Linked DNA regions of Homo sapiens: all the other regions are linked to region 2. The links are contacts of gene promoters, found by promoter capture Hi-C in blood cells and fetal thymus (Javierre and others, 2016). All regions are on one chromosome and are shown on one strand. The core of a region is centred on a gene start or on the middle of the fragment in contact, and the rest is flanking DNA. Distances in the headings are between cores, read along the strand shown. Region 1 overlaps URI1 (URI1 prefoldin like chaperone). Region 2 holds the start of UQCRFS1 (ubiquinol-cytochrome c reductase, Rieske iron-sulfur polypeptide 1). Region 3 has its middle 5.8 kb from the start of URI1.

Region 1 (3,828 bases), core at 1,003-3,502, 750 kb after region 2:
TGAGCCACGGCGCCTGGCCCAGAGTAGTCTTTTTTTTTTTTTTTTTTTTAAGAAGGTCCAAATCAATAGGTCTTTTATTGCATCATTGAAATATCACAAGTATGTCTTAGGAGTCATCTGGCATCTTCTTTCTGTAGCTGGATAACTCTTAGATCTGATTCATCAACCTGCTGAACAGTTCCTTTTTCAGAGACATAGATACCATCCAAAAATTTCCTGATATCCTTGTTTTTAACTGTTGTGGGTTGCTGAATCAAAGCTGCTGAATTTGAAACAAGCTCAGTGTCATTTCCTTCAAGGATTAATTCATCTTTCTGGGCTTGAGGTACTGAACAGGCAACACCTGGTCTCATCTGAACCCTGCGGATGTATTTTTCACCCAAGAAATTTCGGATTTCAACAAGAGACCCATTCTGGATAACGACGTTGATGGGGGAAGTGAGCATACACAGACCTCATCTTGTAATGGAAGCCCAGTGTAACACCCTTGATCATGTTCTGTACATGACTACAAATAGTCCGAACGGTAGCCAGTTCCTTTCTGTTACCCGACCATTTGTCAACCCGGAGCCTCTTTTTTTTCTTTCCAAGGAGTCTGAGTTCTACGTTGATGTGATTGAAGTCCTTCCGCAGGGTTCCTCTGGGGCCCTTTATGATAACTGTGCGTCCCTTCAGAGTAACGTTGACATTTTCTGGAATGTCAACAGTCTGATTGCTGAGAATGGTCTTCATTCTCACAGTAAACGCAGCAAAAAAAAGTGGCCCAGAGTAGTCTTTTTAAGAATGCAAATTGGATGATGTCATTTTGTCATTTTCCTGCTTATAATTCTTTTGGATTTATCAGCAGGAAAACCGTAAAAGAAATACAATTTATGTTTTGAAATTTTAAAATGGATTCCAAGTTTCTGTTGACATCTGCAACTTTTCTTCTGTTTTCATGAATGTATTAATCATAAAGTCTATTATATTTTATAAATGCAATATGTCAATCAAATGAAGGTCTGCTTTTATTCCTTCCCCTTGGTTTCTTTATAGCCGCTTTTGTTTTTATAGATTGCCTTGTACCTTGTAATTTTGAACTGGATGCCAGATATTGTAACAAAAAATTCTAGGGATTCTGGAGGGGGTTAAGCTTTCTTTTAGCAGCCAGAGTAATCCTTATGGAGTATGTTGTCTGTTTCATAAATTATGTGATTATTTGTGTGTAGCTCTGTTTCTCTATTCTGTTCCATTGGATTATTTGCCTGTAATTGCACCAGTATCACACTCTTACTATTTTAGCTTTATAATAGGTCTTGATATCTAGTAGTAAAATTCCTCTAGCACTTTGTTCTTCAAGATTGTCTTTACTATTCTGACCCTTTGCTTTTTTGTATATATTTTAGGATCACCTTTCCAATACTCAAAAAATAACATTACTGGGGTTTTGCTTGGAGTGCACTGGATCTAAAGATCGGTTTGAGGAGAATTAAGATGTTTACAATATTAAGTTTTAAAATCTATGAACATGGTATATCAATTTATTTACTTCTATAACTTTTTAGTATTAGCTTTTAAAAGTATATAAATCTTCATGTGTTAGATTTATTTCTAGATACTATTTTTTGTTGCCTTTTGTAATTTACTTGCTATTCATTTTTTTTTTTTTTTTTGCTGGTAACATACTTGATTTTTACATATTGACTTTGTTCTAAAATTTTTTGTTGTTGTTAAAAAATAGAGATGAGTTTGCTGTGTTGGCCAGACTAGTCTCCAACTCCAGGCCTCAAGTGATCCACCCGCCTCTGCTTCCCAAAGTGCTGGGACCACAACAAGTGTGAGCCACCATGCCTGGCCTAAATTTATTTGAATTCTAATTACTTGCCTGTACATTCTGATAGTATCTGTGTAGTTACATACAGGCATGTTGTTTGTAAATACTGACAGTTTTATTCATTCCAGTTCTTAAGTTTTTTTTTATGGTTGTTTGTTTTGTTTTGTTTTTTGCCCTATTGTATGGGCTAGAACCTTTAATATAATGTAAAATAAAAGTTAGGACATTGGGCTTTACATACCAGGAGGGCAGTTTTAAGTATTTCACCATACAGATGTTCGTAGTTGGCTTTTTGTAGCTACTCGTTATGAAAATAAGGACATTTTCTCCTGTTGCTAATTTTATCATTAATGGATGCTGAATTTTATCAAATGTATTTTCTATGTTTCTTGAGATAACAATATGGTAAATTACTTTGATTCTTTAAAAATATTCAAATGCCATTGCATTCCTGCAGCAAACCCATTTGTAGAGGATGTGTTTACCTTGTTGTATATTGCTAGATTAAATTTGATAATATTTTATTAAGGTATTTTGTTCTGTTACATGAGGCAAAATTCTGTAATTCTTTCTTTTCTTTTCTTTTTTCTTTTTTTTTGATTAACTCTACCAGGGTGCTGCGGCTCACACCTGTAATCCCAGCACTTTGGGAAGCTGAGGTGGGCGGATCACGTGAGGTCAGGGGTTTGAGATCAGCCTGGCCAACATGGTGAAACCCCATCTCTACAAAAAATACAAAAATAAGCTGGGTGTGGTGGCGGGGGCCTGTAATCCCAGCTACTCGGAAGGTTGAGGCATGAGAATTGCTTGAACCCGGGAGGTGGAGGTTGCAGTGAGTTGAGATCACGCCACTGCACTCCAGCCTGGGCAAGTGAGACTCCGTCTCAAAAAAAAAACAACAAAAAACATTAACACTACCTTAAACCTATGATTTTCTTTTCTTGTAATGTCGACGTAAGGATTTGGCTTCAGAATTAGGCTGGTCTCATGAAACAACTCCCATTTTTGTATATCCTATAAAAGTTTATACACTGTTGTTATTGGTTTTTGTGTGTGTGTTTTGTTTTTGTTTTTTTGAAACAGAATCTCGCTCTCATCCAGGCTGGAGTGCAGTGGCCAATCCTGGCTCATTGCATCCTGGAACTCCCAGGCTCAGGTGATCCTCTCGCCTCAGTCTCCCCGAGTAGCTGGGGCTATAGGAATGCGCCACCATGCCTGGCTAATTTTTCTGTATTTTTTGTAGAGACAGAGTCTCACTATGTTGCCCAGGCTGGTCTTGAACTTCTGGGATCAAGCTATCCATCTGCCTTGGCTTCCCAAAATGATGGACTACAGGCTAGTCAGCCACTGTGCCTGGCTCGTACTGTTTCTAACTTAAATGTTTGGAAGAGTTCATCAACAAAGCCGTCTGGGCCCAATATTTTTCTTGGACATTTTGTATGGAGATTTTAAGATACGACCTCAATTTCTTTGAAAGTTCAAAGACTATCCAGATTTTCTGTTTCTAGTTATATCATTTTAGAAAATGTGATTTTCAAGGAATTGTCCTTTCTAAGTTTTCAAGCTTGTTGTCCCTCCGAGTTATCATAATATCCTGTTATCTTTTTATTATCAGTAGATTTGGTGGTGATGTCCTCTTTTTAATTACTGTAATTTTTAATTTGTGGGTTTTTTCCTCCCTTGATTTCTCTTCTTAAGGGTTTATCAATTTTATATTTTATATTTTTGCCTTTGATTTTTTTCCTCTTTTCTAAGTCTGCTTTCTACTTTACTGATTTCTTCTCTCTTTTTTCCTGTTTAAGATTTTCCTTTGCCTGTAATTTTTCTAGCCCTTAGAGATGATGGTTGAGGTTACTAATATTAACCTTTCCTTATTATAAGATATGCATTTTGAGCTTTAAATTTTTCTCTTAATCATTGCCTTAGGTACTGCACACATTTTGTATGTCATTTTCCTTATCAGTCATTTAAAAATAGTTTCTAATTTCTATTGTGATTTGCTCATTGACCCATAA
Region 2 (3,603 bases), core at 480-2,979:
TGGGCTAGGGTACTCTACACCTGCCATGGACAGTTTCTTCAAAACCCACTGATGCTCCTTAACAAATATTCATTCACAAATACTTTGCACTAACTGTATACAAAATCCGACGTTGTGAAAGATAGAAAAATAAAGAAGATATTACCTTCTCTATGCCCTTAAGCCCAAGGGTGGAGGAGTTACCAATAAACACAATACAGAGTGTAAAGTGTATGTGCTACAGAGACAGACAAATCAGCAAATAAAAACTTTATTCACCTGATCCTTAACTGAGATTGAAAAGATGGGTAAGGAAAACATATGGACATGTAGCAACTTAGTGGAAGGACCATGAAGAAAGTGCAGAGCCCAGGGTGAATGAAGACAGAGTAAAAAGAAAAGTGGCGGGCAATTTGGTTAGCGTGTAGGGGAAGAGTCACAAACAGCTATCAGTGGAGCCAGGCTGGTAACAGAATGAAACACGCAGACCTGGTAAAGACTGTGACAAACTGGAGAAGACCACTTGCTCCAACTGCGGGGGCGGCCACTACACAGCACACTATGGAATTTTCCCAAGTAGAAACTAGATCCCAGTATTACCGGCTTCCAGCATTTTAAGAGATGCCATTAGTCTTCCCAGTTTTTTTGAAAACTACACAGCCTGCAGACACACTGCCCACAGGCTGCCATTTCTCTATCTCCGATACAGGGCCAAGTAAAGATGGAAGGCGAGGCAAAGAAGATAAACGGGGATCTAAGGACAGAGGGTGTGGAATAGCCCCTGCGAAGAGCTCAGTGGCTACGACAATTCGTCTTGTCAAATCCCTGCTACCACATGTCCACACCACGGATCCTGGTGCGAGTCATTCTACCTCGTCTGTTTTCTCATCTGTAAAATGTAAATGTCGTCAATCTCTGCCCGTCCTTGACGACTGATTATGTTGTGACACTACACTGTAACTGACCTTGTGTATGTTTTTTTTGTTTTTTTTTTGGTGGGGGGGTGATGAAGGGGAAGGACATGAAGGGATCGGTAGTGGTGAGAAGACCAACTTCCCAAATATTAGTAAGTTTCCATTTCTTAAGCATGTAAGTGCCCAAACTGTGCTAACGGCTTTACGTAGAATTCCTCCACCTAAGCCTCACGACACCCCTACAAAATTGATAAAGATATGAATCCATTTCACAGGAAGTACGTTTAGAAACTCGCCCAAGGTCAAACGACCTGCAAGCAACAAAACCCCTCAGAGGTGGCTGGAACAGCGGGACTACAGAGCTCGTGAACTCGGCCGAGGAGGAACCAGGCGAAGCCGGCGGACGCGAGTCCAGGCCGGCCACCAGAAAGACGCCCCGAGCCCGGGGGCCAGGCCCAGAGTTGCGGAGGCCGCCCAGCCCGACCTGATTCAGGCTCCGCTCGCGCGCCCGCGGCCGCTCCCTGCTGGGGGCCGGAGGAGCGGGCACCGAGAGACCCCCAGCCCTGCTCGCGGCCCTCGCCCCGGCTCACCATTGAGGCCCACGGAGGCGACCAAAGGCCGGCGCACGGCCTGGCCGCTCAGCGACTCCCGGCTGAGGAAGGGCCGCTTCAGGTCCAACACAGGCTGCTCCGGGGTGGCGGGCACCGTGGCCTGCACCAAGGGCCGCAGCGCGCCCGCCACCCCGCGGGACGTGGCCGACAGGACGGGCGCGAACGGGCCTGAGCGGGATGCTACCGACAACATGGCGACAGCCGCTCCAACCGCCAAGCCGGTCACAGGGACGACCTTCCAACCACGGCGCAGGCGCGAGGAGGCGCGGGACGCGTGACGACAGCGCGCCGCCGGAAAGGAAATTCTGCAGTCCTGCAGGGCGGGGCAAACTTGGAGAGGCGCTGCGTCGGGGGACGGGGCTACAAGCCGTCGCTGGGGGCGGGGCTTGCGGCCCACCTGTAGGTCCCGGTGCCACCTCGTCAGTGTCCCGAGAGATCCCCAGAAGAACGAGAGGGCTGAACAGGGGACCCCACTGACGTCCGGTGGGCCGACTTTACGATCCTTTAGGGTAAAAATTTCATCTAGGAAGACCTAGAGATAACAATAAACGATTATAGTTTAACTTAGGATGGTAATATATCTCAACTACGACGAAGTCCAGCACATAGTAATCGCTATGTGTTTACTATGATGATTTTTATTATCTTCATCTAACAACAACAACAACAAAAAGGCCAGAGGCATCTGTGCAAAGCTCGATAATGCTAATGGATTATGTTTATTAAGTATTCACTGTGTATTTGGTTTTGCGTTTTATTATACCTACGTTCTTTCATTTGTTATCAAGGTCTCTATGAAGTCAGAGCTATTACTATCAGCATTTTACCCATGAAGAAACCGAGGTTTAGAGAGATTCTTTTCCAGGAACTGGATAGCCAGCAAGATGTGAAGCAGGGTAATCTGTCTCCTGAGTCTATGCTCTTCAGTGCCACCACTGTTTCCCAAAGTAGGATTTTAGAATTTTAGAGGATGCACAGAGCTCGCTCATTCATGTTCCATCACATAGTGAGAAAGTTTTGTTTTCTTTTGTTTTGTTTTTCAATCCTGATTGCACCAATGAGAAAGTCTCAGTTTGGTGCTAATACATCTTTAATTAAAAAAAAAAAAAAGTAGAGATGAGGTCTCACTATATTGCCCACTCCAGTCTCGAACTTCTGGCCTCAAGGAGTCCTGTCTCCCCCTCCCAAAGTACTGGGATTATAGGCATGAGCAAATTCACTTGGCCTCAGTTTGATCCTAATATATCTTTAATTCCTCTCTACACTTATCTCCCACTTTTAACAGAAAAGATCTTGAGTTAGAAGCTCTTAGCAGAGAACTGAGTCTAGAGTGATTTCATTATATGGTTCATAGTATTGATTTTCTATCCATACTGGTTTTCTATTCTGTACTATACTGAGATAAAGTTTTTCATTTAGGTCAAAAATAATTTAAATATTAAGTAAATGTTAATATAAGCAGTGCACAGAATTGGCTCTGTGCTGTGCATGGGCTCTGTGATCTGGGCAAGTTCCCTCACCTCTCTGTGCCTCAGTTTCCTCACCTGCCAAATGGGGGCAGTAATGATGCCATGTGTGTTGTAAAGTTACTGGGAGGAGTAAATGAACTAAAACGTGTAAAGCATCTACAAGCAGGCCCAGCACACAGGCAGCACCAAGTGAGGATTTGCTAGTGGTGTTTTTATCTGAGATGCCACCTCCTCTAAGAAGCCTTCCCTTGATCCTTGCTGACTCGTTGTTATTCCTCATGCCAGGTCCAAAGTGTACTGACAGGTTTCCCCTTTGACCTTCCTATGACTCCCCTTAGGGCCTAGGCTTTGACCAGCCTTATAGCCCAAGGGACTATATTGTACTCTCAAGATTGGAGGCTGCCTCCTCAGGGGCCACCCTAGCCAGGCTCATCACACAGCTGGCTCAGTGCTCTCCCTTGGCAACAACCTTAGGATAAAAGACATTTCCAGAGAAGTTGTCACACAGCATGCATGGTTTGAGTGCTTCACAAGAAATAATATCACAATTCCCTCTGAGTTGGTAAGGAAATGAAAAATGAATGAATGAATGAATGATCCTTCACAAAACCTTCACAATGTCCCAGTTGG
Region 3 (3,451 bases), core at 575-3,074, 720 kb after region 2:
ACAGGCATGTGCCACCAAACCTGGCTTATTTTTTTTTAATTTTATTTATTTATTTATTTATTTTTAGAGACCAGGTCTCACTATGTTGCTCAGGATAGTCTTGAATCCTGGGCTCAAGTGATCCACCTGCTTTGGCTTCCCAGGGATTGGTAGCATAAGTGCTGGGATTACAGGCATAAGCCAACATGCCCATATTATTTTCTTACTTTCCATCCTTTCGAATCTTTTGATCCAAAGTAAGTCTCTTGCAGACAGCATATAAATTAATAATTTTTAGAAATCCATTCTATCAATCTCTGCCCTTTAATTAGACAGTTTAGTCCATTTACATTTAAAGTAATTACCAATAAAGGATTTAATTCTGCCATTTATTTAATAGCTATTTGCTTTTCTGTACATTTTTTAAATTTTGTTCCTCAATTCCTCCACTACTACATTTTTTTGGTATTTAATAGATTTTAGTGTATCATTTTGATTCCTTTTTTCTTTCCCTGTCTGTATATTTTTTAGTTATTTTCTTAGCGGTTGCCTTGGGGATCACAATTAGCATCTTAAATTTATAACACCCTAATTTGAATAATACTAACTTAGTTTTAAGAGTATACAAATACTTTGCTCCTATACATCTCTTTCCCTCCCTCTTTATATTATTATTGTCCCAGATCATATCTTTATACATTCTGTGCCCATTAACATAGATTTATAATTATTGTTTCATGCATTTGCCCTTTAAATGATAGGTGAAAAACAAAGTATTATGAACAAAACCTACAATAATACTGGCTTTTATATTTACTGATGTATGTAGTTACTATTTTTATCAGTGTTCTTTTTTTTTCTCATCATGGCTTTGAATTACTATCAAGTTTCCTTTCATTTCAGCCTGATGGATTCATTTTAGCAGCTCTTGTAGAGCAGGGCTACTAGCAATGAGCTTTCTCTGCGTTTATTTATCTGAAAATGTCTTAATTTCTCCTTTATTCCTGAAGGATAGTTTGTCTGGTAGGAAATTCTTGGTTGACAGTCTTTTTTTTTTTTTTCCCCAGGACTTTAACTGTGTTATTCCACTGCCTCTGGGCCTCTGGTTCCTTTTCTTTTCTTTTCTTTTCTTTTCTCTTTTCTTTTTTTTTGAGATGGAGTCTCACACTGTCATCCAGGCTGGAGTGAAATGGTGCCGTCTTGGCTCACTGCAACCTCTGCCTTCCAGGTTCAAGCAATTCTCCTGCCTCAGTCTCCCAAGTAGCTGGGACTACAGGCACCCGCCACCACGCCTGGCTAGTTTTTTGTATTTTTAGTAGAGACAGGGTTTCACTATGTTGACCAGGCTGGTCTAGAATGCCTGACCTCATGATCCACCTGCCTTGGCCTCCCAAAGTGCTGGGATTATAGGCGTGAGCCACTGTGCCCGGCACTTAAAAAAAATTTTTTTTTGAGATGGAGTTTTGCTTTTTTAGAGTTTTGCTCTTGTGCCCAGGCTGGAGTGCAGTGGTGCAATCTTGGCTCACTGAAACCTCCACTTCCCAGGTTCAAGCAATTCTCCAGCCTCAGCCTCCCAAGTAGATAGGATTACAGGTGCCCACCACCGCATCTGGCTAATTTTTGTATTTTTAGTAGAATGGGGTTTCGCCATATTGGTCAGGCTGGTCTCGAACTCCTGACCTCAGGCGATCTGCCCACCTCGGCCTCCCAAAGTGCTGGAATTACAGGCCTGAGCCACTGCACCCAGCCCCTCTATGGTTTCTGATGAAAGCTTAGCTATTAATGTTACTGAGGACTCCTTGTACCTTACAAGTTGTTCCTCTCTTGCTGCTTTCAAGATTCTCTTTTTGTTTCTGATTTTTGACAATCTGGCTGTGAGTTTCAGTATGAATCTCTGAGTTTCTCGCGCTTGTAATTTGTTAAGCTTCTTGGACGTGTATGTTCATATCCTTCATCAAATTTGGGAAGTTTTCAGCCATTATTTCTTCAAATTTCTTTTTCTGTCCCTTCCTGTTCCTCTTCTCCTTCAGGAACTTCTACTATGCATATGTTGATATATGCTTGATGGCATCACATGGATCTATCAGGCTCTGTTCATTTTTCCTTTTCTTTTTTTTGAGATAGAGTCTCACTCTATTGCCCAGGCTGGAGTGCAGTGGCATGATCTTGGCTCACTGCAACCTCCTCCTTCTTGATTCAAGTGATTCTCTGGCCTCAGCCTCCCCAGCAGCTAGGGTTACAGGTGCGCGTCACAATGCCTGGCTAATTTTTGTATTTTAGTAGAGATGGGGTTTCACCATGTTGGCCAGGCTGATCTCAAACTCCTGAATTCAAGTGATCCACCCTCCTCGGCCTCCCAAAGTGCTGGGATTACAGGCATGAGCCACCATGGCCAGCCTATTTTTCGTTATTTATTTTTCTCTCTTTACAACTGGACAATTTCAATTGCCTTATCTTCAAGTTCACTGGTTCTTTCTTCTTCCTGATTCTTCAGATCAGCTTTTTGATCTCTCTAGTGAATTTCTAAGTTCAAGCTATTGTACTTTTCGGCTCCAGGATTTCTATTTTGTTCCTTTTTATAAGATTAAACTATCTCTTCATTGGCCTTCCCTATTTGTTCATATATTATTTTGGTTTCCTTTAGCTCATTGGGTGTAAGACAGTTGATTTAATGTCTTTGACTAATGTTTCCAATGTAAAGGCTTCCTTGGGGATGGCTTCTATTGAATTCTTTTTTTCCCCCTGTGAATAGGCTATACTTTCCTTTTTCTTTGTATGCTTTGTAATATTTTGTTGAGCACTTGGCATTTTGGGTATTATTGTAGTAACTCTGAAAATCAGATTCTCCTCCTCTTCAGGGATTGCTGATTTTTGCTTGTTGAGGGTTGCAGCCATCTGTTTGTTTAGAGACTTTTCCAAACTATGTTTGCAAAGTGTGTAGTCCTTATTGCATGTGGTTACTGATGTTTTTGTTTCATAATCTTTACAGGCAACCAGTGACCTGGAAATGATATCTGTAAATTTCTGGCTACAAAAAGGTGTTCTTTACTTTCAAATCTCCTGATGGATGCTGCCATAGGAAGCACAAGAGGGCTGAAACCAATACAGGAGTCTGTGCTAATCCCTCAGGACTCAAAAATGCCCCAATTTTTGGAGGACAAGGGTCATCTTGCCCACCTTGCAACCAGCCAGCCATTCCAGGAAAGCTATTCCTGCAGCCTCATGGTAGGGTGAGGGCTGAGAAATGGGGCATGGCAGCTGTTTTGCATCCACCCTGTTGCTGTTCTCTTACCAACAACCAGCAGCCTCTTTTTTCATCAAGAACTCCCCTGGCTGTTTATTCATGTCTCATGAGGTTTGCCTGTCTAATTTTTTGTATCTTTAGTAGAGATGGGGTTTCACCATATTGGCCAGGCTGGTCTCGAAATCCTGACCTCAGGAGATCCATCTGCTTTGGGCTCCCAAAGTTTTG

Evidence for each region. Contacts are between HindIII fragments. The CHiCAGO score rates a contact against its expected background, and 5 or more counts as called.
Region 1: a fragment that was not itself captured here is called in contact with the fragment with the promoter of UQCRFS1 in region 2 in 3 of 17 cell types (naive CD8 T cells, total CD8 T cells and monocytes); the score reaches 5.3 in naive CD8 T cells.
Region 3: a contact is called between a fragment that was not itself captured here and the fragment with the promoter of UQCRFS1 in region 2, in 7 of 17 cell types (naive CD8 T cells, activated CD4 T cells, total CD8 T cells and 4 more). The highest score is 11.1, in naive CD8 T cells.

What each region holds. Positions count from the first base shown.
Region 1 is chr19:29,956,257-29,960,084 of GRCh38, forward strand. All of the region lies in intron 1 of URI1 (URI1 prefoldin like chaperone), which reads left to right. It also overlaps the pseudogene RPL9P32. Among named protein-coding and RNA genes, the nearest start is that of URI1, 16 kb to the left of the region's middle. The HindIII fragment of the contact is 2,245 bases long and covers 1,131-3,375 here.
Region 2 is chr19:29,211,422-29,215,024 of GRCh38, forward strand. UQCRFS1 (ubiquinol-cytochrome c reductase, Rieske iron-sulfur polypeptide 1) reads right to left here and starts at 1,730. Exons shown (of 2, transcript NM_006003.3): 1 at 1,484-1,730. The coding sequence starts at 1,697. UQCRFS1-DT (UQCRFS1 divergent transcript) reads left to right here and starts at 1,832. Exons shown (of 2, transcript NR_184022.1): 1 at 1,832-1,987. RefSeq lists a silencer at 1,324-1,633 and an enhancer at 1,674-1,913. The HindIII fragment of the contact is 13,970 bases long and covers 1-3,603 here.
Region 3 is chr19:29,934,675-29,938,125 of GRCh38, forward strand. It overlaps a transcript of URI1 not described here. Among named protein-coding and RNA genes, the nearest start is that of URI1, 5.8 kb to the right of the region's middle. The HindIII fragment of the contact is 153 bases long and covers 1,749-1,901 here.